2 separate regions of the Homo sapiens genome follow, and region 2 is linked to region 1. The links are contacts of gene promoters, found by promoter capture Hi-C in blood cells and fetal thymus (Javierre and others, 2016). All regions are on one chromosome and are shown on one strand. The core of a region is centred on a gene start or on the middle of the fragment in contact, and the rest is flanking DNA. Distances in the headings are between cores, read along the strand shown. Region 1 holds the start of EGOT (eosinophil granule ontogeny transcript). Region 2 overlaps CRBN (cereblon).

Region 1 (4,046 bases), core at 828-3,327:
ACTGAGATCATTTTATCCCCCTACCTTCCACTGCACTTCACTGACACTTAACCCCGAAGACATTTGCATTGGAAACTTCGCATTATCTGTTTGAAAGTCCTCTCAGTTCAAGCCACACATTCTAAGACTCAGCAAAAGCTTATTGACACCAAGGGCATTGAATTCACCAGCACCTGTAACGTTTCTTGAAGAATGCTTGCTAGGGAAAAGTTCCCATGGTAACTGTTTTTAAAAGAGTTTTGTAGCATCAACAGGTTAGACAGGAAGTCAAAATCATGGAGCTCAGCAGCATCCCCTATAAGCACGTGCTCCTTTTTAACCACCCCTAACAAAGACACTGAAGCACCCTGTTCATAAGCCCTGATGGGCACTGGAGGGTCTGGCCAGGTTGGGCTGGATTTCAGGGGACCTGATTTGTGTTTCCCTGTGCAGTGCTCGTTTCCATCACCATCTTTAAGGAGGAGGCCTTTTCCATCCACTGGACTCTTACCATCGTGCCTGTTAAGGAACAAAAAGACAACTGCTTAGGCCTGGAGGGTATGTGGAAACCACCAGTTACCTTTGAATATACCTGTGGTGCTCGAACCTCCTTTAGAAAACCCAAGATGCCATTTTAATGATGCTTTGCTCTTGGGTATCAAATTTACTCCTTAATTTACCTCAGGAGATGTTCTAAGAGGAAGCCACAAGATTCCATACCTGCTGTTGTTGTTTTAGAGCTGGTGGATTTTTTTTTTTTTAATCCGCGGAGGAGGACTTGACCCTGTGGGTTCCTAACTTGGATGGCCATGCAGAGCACCCTTAACTTGGAAATCTATATCCTGCTGTTTAAACTTCAAGATGATTCCTATCTGGATTAAAGTCCTCAACCAGCAGGCCGAGGCAAACTCTAAAGAAAAACAAGGTCATGCTGCATTTTTTTTTGGTAAGCACAGGAATCAACAAAGAGATGTTATATAACTTCTATTTATATCCTCCTTGCTCACTATCTGCAGGCAGACAAGAGTCGCTGAGAAGGGATTTAATGAGCTCTCTGGGTTTGCTCACCTTCCTGAGCTGGTAGGAACCAGCTTGTTCTCAAATGCGTCAGTAAAGAATCTGGCTGTGGGTGGGCGGCCAGGGTAGGTGGACTGCGTTGTTGCTATGGTGTTTTTTAATTCCCCTGTCTCTCAAAGATCTCACTCCCCCCTTCCCTGACTCCTTCCTTTTGCCCCCTTCCTTTCTTTCTTTCTTTTTTTTTTTAAATCTGTAAGCTTCCTTGTTTCTCACACCTACTCATGATTCTTGGAGCTGTCTCCGGAAACAGAATATTTTCCCTCTCCTTCCTAAGTGCTCAGCTCCCCCATTGTGTAGCCCCGGGACATCAGAAGTTGTTTTCTAAGGTGTGTTTTTTCCACCCTCCCTTATTTCTTTTCCCATGATTTTTTTATTACCAATCCCTCCATGAGAGAGACCTATCCTAGGAGTCTTCCATCTTGCCTGATAGAAGTTTTCTCTGGCATATTCCAAATTCAGATTGCTCCAAAACCAGGTGAAGTCTGTTGCTAGTTGGACAGTCGGTATGGCCTGGAGGAGAAGGGCTGTTTGTATTTCCATGCATCCTCCTTTGTCCTCTTGCCCTGGGTGAAGCAATGACGTCTCTGTCTCCTCTAGTGCGTTATAAAATAGAACCGCAAGAAAACAAGAGAATGGGTTTACCCCACAATCATAATTCCTGGAGCTTGGGTAACTCCTGTTACCTGAAGGTTGCAGGTTGAAATGACTCAGCTTGCATTTAATTAAAAAAAAAAATGCTGCCCCATCAGATTCTCAGCAGGGACGACGAATGCACCTTGCTGAGAACCCTATGGCTGCCCAGGGAGTGGCCCCCTGCACCCTGGCCGGCCTGGTGGTGGCCACAGAGGCTTCTGAGATGGCTCTGTGTTGTCCATCACATTCCCACCAGAGCAGAGACACTTAGAAGATGTGAGTAGGGAGGTTAGGATGAAAAGTTCTTAGAAAAGAATATGTAGTTCCATGAGGACAGGCTGAAAAAATTTTTAAAAAGCCAAACCCACCTCTGCCTTGCCCAGAAGTTGTGCAATCCTTAATAGCAGTAGCCTGTTTGAATAATCAGAGGCAAGCTGACTTCCCTTTATTAACTTCTGTTAGAGACATCTGCATAAAATATCCCCGGATTCCAGACCAAGTAGGTAATTTTTTTTTCCCCTCTGAGTAACGGGAGGGACTTTCCCTTTGGAAATCTTCCAGCAGAGTTAACTTCATGGTTGAGACTGTTTTCTCATTATAAGGTGCCAACAGCTAGATTCCTGATGCAGGGACAGTGAAGGCGCCTCATGTACACACTTGGATCCCCTGCTTCCCTGAGAACTGACTTGATGTTCACAGTTGCCTCTGGTTCTTCTGCCTTGACCCTCCTTTTCACGGAGAAATCTATGCCCGCTCACATTTCCTGAGGTCCTCTGAGTTCCTCTTTGAAACTGTCAGAGGCTCTCTCAAAGTTTCTACCAATTTCCTATTCCTGGGTTTTAGACTTTTGATCAAGATGGCTCTGACACTGAAGGGGATAGTCCTGTAAACCCTCTGAAGTCTTCAAGCCTCGTTTTTCCCCTGGAATTCAGGACTTTAAAAATATATATATTTTATTGCTCTTCGAGGAGGATGTGTTGCAGTTGCCCTCACCATATGGTATTTGAGAAATATGTTTTTATTAGCCTCCTTGCAACACAAACCCACAAACTGTTGAGCCCAGAGCTTGTAGCTATCAAGTCTGGGGAGGGAGCCAGGTTTGGAGACGGAAGGTGCACAAATGATCATCCCTCCCGGGCTGTAGTTAATCATGCAAGCTGCTGTGTCACTGGGGCCGGGGTAGTTAACAGTTAACTCGATGGATTAAGGATCCTCAGCCAGGCTGAGCCCATCACAGAGTTACGTGCAAAAACCGGATAAGCCCGTAGAGGTGACAACACCACATCAGCTGCCTTTGGCTGGTCTGCGGTGTGCTGCATATTCCCACTTAGCAGGACTTTGAGCTTTCACATGCAGGCTTCTTCTGGCCATAAAGTTATACTTCAGCTGCCATGGATGCAAAGCTTGGCTTGAGTGTTTCGGAATTGCACCTCCTTCAGGATTATTGTTCATTCATTAATATAGTAAATTTTTTAAAAAGAGAGAAGAGGCCTTACTGTGTTGACCAAGCTGGCCTTGAACTCCTGGGCTGAAGAGATCTTTCTGTCTCAGCCTCCGGAGTAGCTAGAACTACTGGCTTGTGTCACCACAGCCGGCTTAATATAGCAGATGTTTACTTACTGAGCACTCCCTGGGTGTCAGGTGCTATACACATTGGCGTCAATACAGTCAGGGATGAGACCAACATAGCCCCTGCCCTCCAGGAGCTTACAGTCTTGTGGGAGACAGAGCTAGGAAATCAGCTCATCATCAGCTAAATCAGAGCTTCAGAGAAGTGTGATGGGGAAGCAAACAGGCGCCACGAAGCGTGGCCAGGGAGGGCTTCTCTGGGGAGATACCGTTCAAGCTGAGACCCAACAGATGCGAAGAGAAGGAGCTGTGTGAAGAGTAGCAGAGGGCAAGAGTATTTCAGAAGAGGGTTGGCTTGTGCTTGGGATGTTGGAGGAGCTGAGTGAAGGAAGCTAACGCGGTCTACCCCATGGTGGTCGGTCAGGGGCAGAGCTGCGGAAAGTATCTGCTCCACCAGGGTGATGGGCTTGTCATCAAGTCGGGGCTGGATGAGGTGATCTCTGTGGTTCCCGCCGATCCCTAGTCGGTGCTTCTAAAGGGCACCAAGTTGGCTTGGGCCTGTCCCCTGCTTGGATATGCGCTGCCGCCGCCAAAGCCCTAATATACAAAGCAGCTTTACCCAGATGAGTGCTGTGTGATTTCACCCTGCCCTGCTCTAACCGCTTGGCCATCTGTACATCTTACTGTCAGCTGCCAGGGATGCTCTCTGTGGCCGTGTGGAAGTTACCTGGTGGGCCAGCACACAGCAAGATGGGGATGCAGGGTGGGGAGACATGAAGAGTCCCAGA
Region 2 (3,983 bases), core at 736-3,235, 1.6 Mb before region 1:
GTCTTGGTTATGTCTTTATCGGCAGCGTGAAAATGGACTAATACAGCTACACAAAAGCTGCCTGTTAACTAAAGGCAGTATCAATATTACTAAACGTTAAAAAATACTAGTTTCAAGGTTGTTTGGGAGTCTTAAAGCAGTCTAATTATATCTTCCTTATTAGAATCTTCCTTAGAAACACTAGTCAAAACACACTGTACCATGAAACAGATCAGTTAACTGAGATAAAGACCAGGAAGTCTTATAGATACCTGGTTATAACCCTGATGCCCATCAAGTGCCCATTCTGCACAAGTTTTCACTGAAAACTGGAGGAATTCTACTGCAAGAACAATAAAAATTCGGTACAGTGACTAGTATATAAGTCCACTTCATTAATTATCCATAATAATTTACATTAAATTAGGATTCTGTATTTACATTAAAATATTAAATCCTCACCACTCAACAAAGGAATGATTAATAGAGAATTTTTAAGGTTACAGTGGAAACTGTCTTTCCATATTAAAAAAAAAAACTCAAAAAGCCCAATTATTCTAAATTTAGAAACTAGTAATCTTTTTCTTTAGGTAGCAATTATAAATATTAACTATACTTAAAATTGCACATCTCACAAACGAGTAGAAACAGGCTCCCTCAATTTTTTTTTCCTATGACAATTATGATTTAGTCAAAGGATATAACATAGGAATTAGTGCCCAAACAAGCAACATTTTTAAAGAGCACCTAGTCTCAAGTCAATTTCTGCGATGTCAACTGTATTTCATTAAAACACATAGCAAAAGAAACCTTTCTCTCTGGTTTGGAAGAAGGAAAACAGACTCTACTTCTCTACTACTACTCTACCCCAAAAGAATCCTCCCTTCTTTAAGATAATGGATGTTTATAACTCAAGAGCCGAACATCTAATTTGATCATAGTTTAATAAGCATTTCCCATGGAATTAAAAATCAAAAGCGATTAATATAGCTGATAAGCATAATAACAAGGATACCTTACAGCTGTGTGACATTTTATTGCTTTTGTAAACTGCTTTTACATAAAGTAGCTGCCTGTGCAATTTTTAGAGGATCAAATGTAGCTGGAATATTGCCATACAAGGTGGCTGGGTAATGAATCATGAAAGTTGTGTTTCTTTCTTAAAACAGGAAAAAAAACAACCTGTCTTCATTTTTTGAAGATGCATAAAAAATTAGTTTCTCACCTTCTGGTATTTCTGCCACCATTTATATGAACATTGGTCTTCTCTTGAGACAGGTTTTGAAGGAAATATCTGGCACTTATTGAGGGATTCTAATTGAACTGCAGACATGGTTGAAGGCAACACACATTCGGGAAGAATTTGCACTTTAGCTTGCTGGATTCTAAAATAAAGAGAACCAAGCATGGTATTCATTTCTAAGATTGACTAACTCAAAACTATAAGTTTCTAAACAGTGATAATTTTAAATACCAAGATTTTCCAAGTTTTATCTTTTAAACATATTCATCAAATACTGATGTTAAGATACAGAAACTTTCAGAAAATAATTTTATTTCATAAATCATACCAAAGTTAAAACCAAAGATAACCTAAGGTACGGATCTTCAATGTCACTGTGGAATGGAAAGGGAGATCTACACATTTCAGATAAATACAGAGTCTATAAATGAAACAAAGTTTTAAAAAAACCAACATACAACCAACTACTGCTTGATACTTCTACTTTCTTAAACATTCTTAAGACACCCAAATTCTTCTATCCCCCCACTTCTTATGCTGCTTAACTCTTACATCTATCCTTTCTCATAAGTCATCTAATCTAAGTAGAGAAAGGAAGAGAAAAATCAAGAATGCATTTACATGGATGAATTAAAATAACACTAGAGAGTTACATGCAACCTTTCTGTGTGCATTCCTTTTCACGTTCTTAAGAGTTTAACTGTACAAAGGATCAAACTATAAATTAGATTTTTTCTTAAAAGTTATTTAAAATGTCATAATAAAGTCATTTCCAAAATGCTACTTGAGAATATCATAATTGCAAACATCTTATCATGAACTAGTGCAAACAGGAAGGTTGTATCTATGAGCTATCTTCCTGTGAGGCATTCTATCTCTTAGAGTGTAGCTTCTGAAATGTAGAATATGTAACTATATTCAAATGCTAGTATATAACACTGTCAGACTGACAAAGTCAAATATATTAAAAGTCTCTGCTTTATTAGTTATACTTAAGACTTCTAAAGTAGTCTTTCATAATAACCACTGTTTGACCACAAGATATTATGGATGAAATTCTGACATTTTACTTATTTATTAGAAGGAAAAATAACTGAGTGTGTTAGAAAGTATCTAAGTTTAATTTAATGATAATAGTAGACTCACTCTACTAACTTTATTTCCTTCCTGCAAACTCATTAGAAATACTCAGAAAATTTGTCTACATGACTTCGGAAAATGTTAAAAAATTTTACTATAGTCAAATTATGGTCAAGTGTTCTTATATTATTATTAGAGCTCATTAGAAACAAAATCTCAATTTTCTTCACCTGATTCATGAACACAAATAACTTGTTAATTACATTATGAAGGTAAAAGTATATACCATCCTATAGAAATTTTTAGAAATCTGATTCTTCAAGGTTATAGGTAACTGAATTAAGAACTATGCTTTACCCAACTATTGTATAAGATTTGATTATGATAAAAACAGTAACATTATTGATCCCCTGGCTTACAGATCATGTTAATTAGTCTGCAGTACAAACTGTCTGAATTGCCTTGAAGGATTAAGGAATGCTCTCCTTTACCTGGTTAAACATGGCCAGGGTCCACTGCATATGCAGTGGCTGGTTCTTCTCCCAGCAGCTGAGTTTTGTTTTTAACATAAGCTAGTTTTTTTTCTTTCCAACTTGTTTATCACAGTTGTTTTGTGATTACAGCAACATAATTTATATAAATGTTATAAAAACCAGTGAAATATGACTTCAACAATAAAACTGCTTCAAGGAACATTAAGTTGAGACATAAACTGCTTTCAAATTAGGTACAGACTACTCTAATAGGAAAAAAACCGCACAAATCTGGAAAAATTCTGCACTCAAATTGCCTTGTGACTATCTTTAGAATCCCTCTTTAAAGAAAAACTAGCAGTATAAACTGTGGATAATGTACAATGAAAGTGCCAGAAAGTCTACAGTCATCTCCAATCTGCAGAACTGCTTCAATGGAAAGACCTTGGTCTCTCCAGATGAAAAATGAATGAATTTATAAAGTTAAAATAAAATGTTTAAGCTATATATGTGTAACATTTTGTGATTTCCAGCTTCAGCTAACTTTTTGACTAACAATTATTGGTCTCAGTCTAGACAGGTAAGAGATCTTCTCTTGTGATGCCAATAGGATATCAATCCCCTCCTCCTCTCTACATGCTAAGAAGTAGGAACTTCTGAAGAGTCCTATGTCAGTGAGACCTGTTTTTATTAAAAAAAAATTTCTATGTGTTCAGAAGATGCCCACCCCCCCTCCGCCCTCCCCAACCCACACACACTCATGACTTTGGGGGTTGTATACTTTTTTTCTTTTTTGAGATGGAGTCTCACTGTTGGCGAAGCTGGAGTGCAGCGGTATAATCTCTGCTCAGTGCAACCTCTGCCTCCCAGGTTCAAGTGGTTCTCATGCCTCAGCCTCCCGAACAGCTGGAATTACAGGCACAGGCCACCATGCCCAGCTAATTTCTTGTATTTTTAGTAGTGATGCAGCTTCACCATGTTGGCCAAGCTGGTCTTGAACTGCTGGCCTTAAATGATTCACATACCTTGGCCTTCCAGAGGGCTGAAATTACAGGTATGAGTCACCACACCTGGCCTCTGTAGTGTACTTTTAATAAATGAAGTGTCATTTAGGTAAAAGATGGATATTTATATTTTTTAATTTTTATTTTTCTATATGCTTATTTCTCTAAGAAAAACAAATGAATATTAAATATTTTACTGGAGAA

The links. Contacts are between HindIII fragments. The CHiCAGO score rates a contact against its expected background, and 5 or more counts as called.
Region 2: a fragment that was not itself captured here is called in contact with the fragment with the promoter of EGOT in region 1 in 1 of 17 cell types (naive B cells); the score reaches 5.5 in naive B cells.

What each region holds. Positions count from the first base shown.
Region 1 is chr3:4,749,513-4,753,558 of GRCh38, forward strand. EGOT (eosinophil granule ontogeny transcript) reads right to left here and starts at 2,078. Exons shown (of 2, transcript NR_004428.1): 1 at 1,434-2,078; 2 at 1-498. The region is part of intron 44 of ITPR1 (inositol 1,4,5-trisphosphate receptor type 1); the gene reads left to right. RefSeq lists an enhancer at 131-200. The HindIII fragment of the contact is 1,839 bases long and covers 1,252-3,090 here.
Region 2 is chr3:3,166,430-3,170,412 of GRCh38, forward strand. CRBN (cereblon) reads right to left here. Exons shown (of 11, transcript NM_016302.4): 5 at 1,205-1,364. Among named protein-coding and RNA genes, the nearest start is that of CRBN, 11 kb to the right of the region's middle. The HindIII fragment of the contact is 8,322 bases long and covers 1-3,983 here.